Regions from separate parts of the Homo sapiens genome. Here region 1 is linked to region 2. The links are contacts of gene promoters, found by promoter capture Hi-C in human tissues and cell types (Jung and others, 2019). All regions are on one chromosome and are shown on one strand. The core of a region is centred on a gene start or on the middle of the fragment in contact, and the rest is flanking DNA. Distances in the headings are between cores, read along the strand shown. Region 1 overlaps MSANTD3-TMEFF1 (MSANTD3-TMEFF1 readthrough). Region 2 holds the start of MSANTD3-TMEFF1 (MSANTD3-TMEFF1 readthrough).

Region 1 (3,952 bases), core at 444-2,943, 61 kb after region 2:
GAGATGGAGCCTCGCTCTGTTGCCAGGCTGGAGTGCAGTGGTGCGATCGTGGCTCACTGCAACCTCCGCCTCCCGGGTTCAAATGATTCTCCTGCCTCAGCCTCCCTAGTAACTGGGACTGCAGGTGCATGCCACCACACCCAGCTAATTTTTGTGTTTTTAGTAGAGACGGGATTTCACCATGTTGGCCAGGATGGTCTCGAACTCTTGACCTCGTGAACCGCCTGCCTTGGCCTCCCAAAGTGCTGGGATTACAGGCATGAGCCACCGCGCCTGGCTACTTTGATTTATTTTTAAAAAGAGTAATGTATGCCCATAGTAAACAACTTGAACAATATAAGAAGATATGTAGCAAAAAAAGCTTCCACTCCAGACTGTCAACTCTTCTCAAAGGCAACATCTGTTACTTCTTGCATTTCCTTCTAGAAGTATTTTGTGTGTATATAAATTTGTTTAATTCCCCTTTTAAATATTAAATCATTTAATAGTATTTATCTTGGAGATTGTTCCTTTCCAGGAACAATAGATTCCAAAGAACTCTATATTTTAAAGAAGTTATCCTAATTTCATTTTTTTGTTTTTCTTTTTAACACTATGTATTTTTAATTGACAAAAATAATTGTATATCTTAGTTTCATTTTCATTTTGTTTATATTTTAGACACAAAGAAATTTCAGATTTTCACCTTATATTTATCTGTCTTTTTTTTTGTTTGAGACGGGGTCTCACTCTGTTGCCTAGGCGGGAGTGCAGTGACACAATCATAGCTTACTGTAGCCTTGACCTCCTGGGCTCAAATGATCTTCCCACCCCAGCCTCCTGAGTAGCTGGGACAGCAGGTGTGCATCACCACACCTGGCTGATTAAAAAAATTTTTTTTTGTAGCGCCAAGACCTCTAGGTTGCCCAGACTGGTCTTGAACTCCTGGGCTCAAGCAGTCTTCCCACCTTGGCGTCCCAAAGTGCTGGGATTACGGGTATGAGCTGCTATGCCCAGCCCTGCTTTTCTTCATTTTTTGAGAAAAGTATTTCCCTGAAACTCTAAGATTATAAAGAAATAGCCTTTTTGACGTTTTAAAAAATATACTTGAACAGCTAGAAAATCCTTCCATGATCTGTCTGAATTCCTTGCATTTTTACCTTGTGGCAAAGCAGGGAAGGAAAATATGTTGGGAGTTGACACCATTAGACATTTATCCAGTGCTTACTTGTGCTGGGTATGAGACTAGATGCTGAGGATGTAAAGATGTTTAAAGACTGGTTCCTTGCCTTGTAGGAGCAAACTGCCTCAGGGCTTACAGTATAGTTTGATCTTGCTGCCGAGTGAACCTTCCTTTGACCATTCTGCCTTCCTTTATAAGATTATAAATCTGTTCAGGGTAGACTTAGGTTATTGCCAGCTTAAAAATAATGACCTGACATGCCCATTAAACCCTTCTCTGCTGGATGCTTTAGCAGTATCTTTCAATTCATTTTAAAAACTTGCTTATGATTCAGCATGCTTTTAGTGCTAAATAGAAGCTTTCTGGGACATTATTTAAATACATTTTAACAGATAACAGGATTTTAAATAAAAATTCAAATTGTTTTTTTTTTTAGTCTGCTAATAAGAGCTATTATCTTGCCACACATATAAACAAAGCCACTTTTGCTAATTTGGTATATAGAAACATGATTAATACTGCATCTTTCCCTGAAAACTTTGTATAGAGTACAGTCTATGACTTTTTTTCCTGTTTTCTTTCTTCATCTTTGTTCTGGCATTCTCTGAACTATGTGTCTTTCTTCCTGTATTTATCAATGTCTGCTCTTGCTAGGTGCCATGCCCTCTTATTAGACCCTTTATTAGTCACAGTTCTCCAGAGAAACAGAAACACACACACACACACACACACACACACACACACACACACACGAATGTGAGAGCGAGCGAGCAATAAGGAATTAGCTCATTTGATTATGGAGGCTGAGAAGTCCTACAGTCCGTCATCTGTATACTAGCCCAGGAAAGCCAGTGGTACAAGTCCCTATCTGAGACTGAAGGCCTGGGCACCAGGAGAAGATCGATGTCCTAGCTTAAGCGGTCAAGCAAAAGGAGAGAAGAATTCTATTCAGTTCTTCAGTGGATTGAATAGTGCCCACTCACACTGGGGAGGGCAGTCTGCTTTACTTGATCCACTGATGCAAATATTAATCTCATCTAGAAATTCCTTCACAGATAAACCCAGAAATGATGTTTAGTCTGGGCACCATGGGGCCCAGTCAAGTTGACATAGAAAATTAATCATCACAACCTTGTTATTATTTTCTACTTGCTGTATTCAGCATAGTTCCTGACACACAGTAGGTACACAATAAATGCTTGAATGGATGCAGTTCCAGAGTCGTACACTGCTCCATCTTTCTAAACTACTTGAAATAGCTGGCAACATCATCACATTCTTCTAGCTAAAGAAAAGGTACAGGGGAGAGTTCTTCCTCCCAACAAGGGTGGCAATATAGAGGAGCAGACTTTAGGTTAGACTTAGAATCCACCATCAGTGCATAAGTCAGAAATCGCATGTTGTTAAAATTGTCCAAATCCCATAATTTGTCCATTAGCATAATTAGAGGCTTCCAGGAGAGACCCATGGAAACTGAGAATGACCAACAGCAGGTCTACTTCTCCCATCTCACACTCACTCCTAGGTATATGCTTGTGAGGGTGAATTTCAGAGACATTAAGTCCTCTGCTCAGTGTCACCAAGTGACAGATGGCAATACACCACTGACTTAACTTGAGTGTGTAGTGGTTAAAATACATCATATGGGAGGAATTGTGGCTCTTCCACTTATTAGTGACTATTGGCAAATACTTACGACTGAGAAATGATACTAGCAATAGCAAAATAGCTAATGTTTATTGAGAATGTACCATGGTCAGATAGAAATGCCAAAGGTAGATTATCTTATTTAATCTTCATAACAACTTTGTTAGGTAGGTAGTATTATAATCACCGTTGTACACCATTGAACATGGTGATGGTGCTAGCCCATAGTCACATGGTTGGTGGGCCCAGGATTTGAATTCAAACATTTTTGGCTTTATAGCCTTAGCTCTAAGCATTCAACCATGTGCTTCACATGGTTTATGATATTTAAGTTAGGACACTTAAAGTTGTAGACTAATGCTTCCTGGATAAAAAATGTGAAGATTCTCAGCCCTATCAGAATTAATGCTTCATTTTAATATTCAGTTTCTTTACTATCCTTAGAAGAAATTCACGGATAAATTAACCTACATAAACACATGATTAAAGAAATGAATTTAATGCATGATTGCAATGTAAAGGAGAAATAAAAGTAATTTATAATAAAATAAATATTTCAGAATGTAAATGCTTAGGTATGATTACCATAGAAGAAAATACAGTCATCAGATGTTTGTGTCTGCTTATGATAAATGTTTGGATTAAAAAAATTAAAAGCAGGTCGGGCGCGGTGGCTCATGCCTGTAATCCCAGCACTTTGGGAGGCCGAGGTGGGCGGATCACGAGGTCAGGAGTTCAAGACCATCCTGGCCAACATGGTGAAACCCCGTCTCTACTAAAAATACAAAAATTGGCTGGGCATGGTGGTGTGTGCCTGTAATCCCAGCTACTTGGGAGGCTGAGGCAGGAGAATTGCATGAACCTGGGAGGCGGAGATAGCAGTGAGCCTAGATTGCACCACTGCACTCCAACCTGGCGACAGACCTAGACCCTGTCTCAAAAAAAAAAAAAAAAAAAAAAAAAAAAAAACAACTAAAAGCAATTTCATACCAGGAGTACATGAAACAAAAATGTAGATGTCTAGTAGATGCTAGAATAAAAACCAATATTAGGATAAGTTATAACAGATCAGACTGATTTGTAGTATTAAGGAAAGTCTTGTCAAAATTCCTACATGAATAGCCAGAGAGACATTCAGAAGTT
Region 2 (4,282 bases), core at 1,631-4,130:
GTCTGATACCTGATGTGTCCAGTATGAATGTAGAGCAGGGTACCTGGTATTTGGAGATACGGATTACCCTCGTACTTCATTCTATTAATAACAACTTTTAGGATGAGGCAGTGCGTAGTGAGAGACCGTGATCAGGTTCTGTCACCCTCATGTAAAGACCACACTCCTTGGCGTCAATTTGAAGGGTCTCTGATCTGGCCCAGTCCTCTCCAGCCTCAGTCAAACAGATTTCAGCCATTCACAACTACAGAAACCCCTTCCCAGGCATAGTGCGTGAGTAGCCGGCTTGAAATAGTGTGATTCAAAATTAGTGTACTGTAAACTTAAAAGTCACAGCCTCCCCTGCTTAATTTTTTATTATGGAATTTTAAAACATAACAAAGGTTGAGAAAATAATGAATCCTTGTGTACATATGACCTTTGATTTCAAATTATTCCATTTTTGGCTTGTGGGGCTCTTTTCAAGTTGGTTCCTAATTTTTTTTTTTTTAATTTTTTTTTCGAGACAGAGTCTTGCTCTGTCATCCAGGCTGGAGTGCAGTGGCGCGATCTCAGCTCACTGCAAGCTCCGCCCCCCGGGGTCAAGCAATTCTCCTGCCTCAGCCTCCCGAATAGCTGGGACTACAGGCGTCTGCCACCACTCCCAGCTAATTTTTTTTTTTTTTTTGTAATTTTAGTAGAGACGGGGTTTCACTGTGTTAGCCAGGATGGTCTCCATCTCCTGACCTCGTGATCCGCCCGCCTCAGCCTCCCAAAGTCCTGGGATTACAGGTGTGAGCCATTACGCCTGCCCAGTTCCTAATTTTTTGACATGATTGGTCAGTTTTAAATGGACTGCCTCATCAGTATCTTGATGCATGCCTGTTACTCTGAGAAATCAGAGGCTTGGAGAATGTAAGAAGGACTGGGAATACGTAGGCCCTTCCCAACTAGGGGAACGATAATGCTTACTTTATTGCCGCAGTCAGTGTTGCTTAGCTACATTTTTGCCGTAACATATTTGAGAGGTTAATTTTATAGGAAGCTTTCTGTGATTGAAAGATATGGGAATAGCGTGCAGTCCTAAAACACACATAGGTTTCATACACTTCACTGGAAGAAGACATTCACTAAGCACCTGTTGTGTGAAACATGCTGACCCGGCACTGTAGAGGATGACAAAGTGACTTATGGGAATCATGGTTGAATCATTTGGAGTGACCCAAGGCAAGAGGCCGAGAAACAGCTGTGGAATGATTCTAAGAATACCAGACTCCTAGGGCAGTCCAAGCTCTGGACTTTCTATGTCACCATCTTTGTGATCTTGTGCAATCCACTTCACCTTTCTGACCCTTTCTTCTCTCAGCTGGAAAGAGACTTGAGGAATGTAAAGAGGGACACTGGACTCAGTCTCTTAAGTGCCTAGGCCCTTTCACATCTGAAATTACATACATTGTTTACTTAGGATTTTAAAAAACAGCCCGCATACCTGAAGGATCACAGACTCCAACCCCTCATTTTAAAGATGAAAAAACTGAGGTTGCCATTGCTCCAGGTACATGCCACAGAGTGATGAAAACGTCAAATTTTTTTTTTTTTTTTTTTGAGACAGTGTCTCCTTTGTCATCCAGGCTGGAGTGCGGTGGTGCAAACATGGCTCACTGTAGCCTCGACCTCCTGGGCTCAAGCAGTCCTCCTACCTCAGCCTCCCAAGTAGCTGGGATTACAGGTGCATGCCACCACACCTGGCTATTTTTTTTTCTTCTTTTTCTTCCCTTTTTTTTTTTTTTTTTTTTTTTTTTTAGAGACAGGGTTTTGCCTTGTTGCCCATGCTAGTCTCGAACTCCTGGGCTCAAGCAATTTACCTACCTCAGCCTCCCAAAGTGCTGGGATTACAGGTGTGAGCCACTGTGCCCGGCTGTACATCTTTTTTTTTTTTTTTTTTTTTTGAGATGGAGTCTCACTCTGTCACCCAGGCTGGATTGCAGTGGCACGATCTTGGCTCACTGCAACCTCCACCTCCCGGGTTCAAGTAGTTCTCCTGCCTCAGCCTCCTGACTAGCTGGGATTACAGGCGCACGCCACCACGCCCAGCTAATTTTTGTATTTTTAGTAGAGATGGGGTTTCACCATGCTGGTCAGGCTGGTCTGGAACTCCTGACCTCGTGGTCCGCCTGCCTCAGCCTCCCACATCATATTTTATATTTGAGTACACGGTGGCTTCTTTTGTCCTCAGCTGTGACAAAAGTTTTGGAAAGCTGTTTAGTTCTAAAACTGGCTAACATGATTTGGGGGAATAATCAGTTCCCTAATATTAAAGAAAAATCAATTAACAAATCAGAGTCTAGGCCGGGCGTGGTGGCTCACGCCTGTAATCCCAGCACTTTGGGAGGCCGAGGCAGGCAGATCACTTGAGGTCAGTAGTTCGAGACCAGCCTGCCCAACATGGTGAAACCCTGTCTCTACCAAAACTACAAAAAAAAAATTAGCCGGGCGTGGTGACAGGCACCTGTAATCCCAGCTACTCAGGAGGCTGAGGCAGGAGAATTGCCTGAACCCGGGAGGTGGAGGTTGCAGTGAGCTCAGGTCGTGCCACTGCACTCCAGCCTGGGTGACAAGAGCGAGACTCCGTTTCAAAAAAAAAATGTTCAACTTTTCTTTTTTTGCTGTTATATACCAGATAGTCACAGTATAGCCACAACAATCCACTTTGAAATAAAACCCCATTCCTAGTACATTTCTAAATATTCTCCAGAGTCCTGAATATCATAATTCAACCTTAATGGAAAAGAAAGTACTGTATTTCAGACAAGGGAATCAAGTCAGGAATTAAGCTTCAGTGATTTATAGGCATTGTTTTTGCTGGAGTTGGTAATCATTGCTTCAAACTTCCTTTTACAGGATAGCTAGCGGCCAGGAGAAATACAGTGGAAAATGCAAAACAACGAAATTATAAAGCCTGCCAAATACTTCTCAGAATTGGAAAAGAGCATCCTGCTGGCTTTAGTAGAAAAGTATAAATATGTGCTGGAATGTAAGAAAAGTGATGCGCGAACTATTGCCCTTAAGCAGCGTACCTGGCAGGCGCTGGCCCACGAATACAACTCTCAGCCCAGCGTGTCCCTGCGGGATTTCAAACAGCTGAAGAAGTGCTGGGAGAACATCAAGGCTCGGACCAAAAAAATTATGGCCCATGAAAGGAGAGAGAAAGTGAAACGGAGCGTCAGCCCTCTCCTGAGTACCCACGTCCTAGGGAAGGAGAAGATCGCCAGCATGCTGCCGGAGCAGCTCTACTTCCTGCAGAGCCCCCCGGAGGAGGAGCCCGAATACCACCCCGACGCCTCAGCCCAAGGTATCCGTTCCTGATGCCAGTGTGCACGCTCTCACTGGGTATCTGTTTGACATTTTAATTTTAAAACCCTCCACTTTGAGGGAACTTCTAAAAATGAAACTTTTGTATCAAATCCAATTTTCCTAATTCAAGATCTCAGGATTATATAGGACATTCAAAGTCTTATAGAAGTGGGCGTGGTGGCTCGTGCCTGTAATCCCAGCACTTTGGGATGCTGAGGCGGGAGGATGGCTTGAGCTCAGGAATTTGAGACCACCCTGGGCAACAAAGTGAGACCCCTGTTTCTACAAAAAATAGAAAAAATTAGCTGGGCATGGTAGCATGCACCTGTAGTTCCAGCTACTCGGGAGGCTGAGGCTGGAGGATAACTTGAGCCCAGGAGGTGGAAGCTGCAGTGAGCTGTTATTGCGCCACTGCACTCCAGCCTGGGTGACGGAGTGAGACCCTGTCTCAAAAAAAAAAAAAAAAAAAAAGTAATATATAAAAACAAAAGTACTTGTTTACATCATTGTGCTAGCTCTCTTGGAGACTTTATTATTACTTAAACATAAAGAAAAATAAGGGACTGGATTAATGGAGTTCTTATTAGTGAGGTGCTGCAGTTGCCTATCAGCCTGTCTCAAATATGTTAAAGAGAATTGTATGAAGATTTGTATTCATCCACTCAATTTCACTTTTTTCAAAAAATATTTTTGGAGGTCCTTATTATTTGCAAAGCATTGCAGTAGGCCACTCAAAAGGCCATATTAAAAGAGTCAACCGGCTGGGTTCTGTGGCTCATGCCTGTAATCCCAGCACTTTGGGAGGCTGAGGTGGGCGGATCACCCGAGGTTGGGAGTTTGAGACCAGCCTGACCAACATGGAGAAACCCCGTCTCTACTAAAAATACAAAATTAGCCGGGCGTGGTGGTGCATGCCTGTAATCCCAGCTACTTGGGAGGCTGAGGCAGG

What was found. Contacts are between HindIII fragments. The study calls those that stand out against the background at their distance.
Region 1: a contact is called between a fragment that was not itself captured here and the fragment with the promoter of MSANTD3-TMEFF1 in region 2, in 2 of the 25 tissues and cell types used here (bladder and hippocampus).

Annotation. Positions count from the first base shown.
Region 1 is chr9:100,501,664-100,505,615 of GRCh38, forward strand. All of the region lies in intron 2 of MSANTD3-TMEFF1 (MSANTD3-TMEFF1 readthrough), which reads left to right. All of the region lies in intron 2 of TMEFF1 (transmembrane protein with EGF like and two follistatin like domains 1), which reads left to right. Among named protein-coding and RNA genes, the nearest start is that of TMEFF1, 30 kb to the left of the region's middle. The HindIII fragment of the contact is 6,920 bases long and covers 1-3,952 here.
Region 2 is chr9:100,439,026-100,443,307 of GRCh38, forward strand. It overlaps MSANTD3-TMEFF1 (MSANTD3-TMEFF1 readthrough), which reads left to right and starts at 2,881. Exons shown (of 10, transcript NM_001198812.1): 1 at 2,881-3,331. The coding sequence starts at 2,914. It overlaps MSANTD3 (Myb/SANT DNA binding domain containing 3), which reads left to right. Exons shown (of 3, transcript NM_080655.3): 2 at 2,881-3,331. The coding sequence starts at 2,914. The HindIII fragment of the contact is 6,684 bases long and covers 1,919-4,282 here.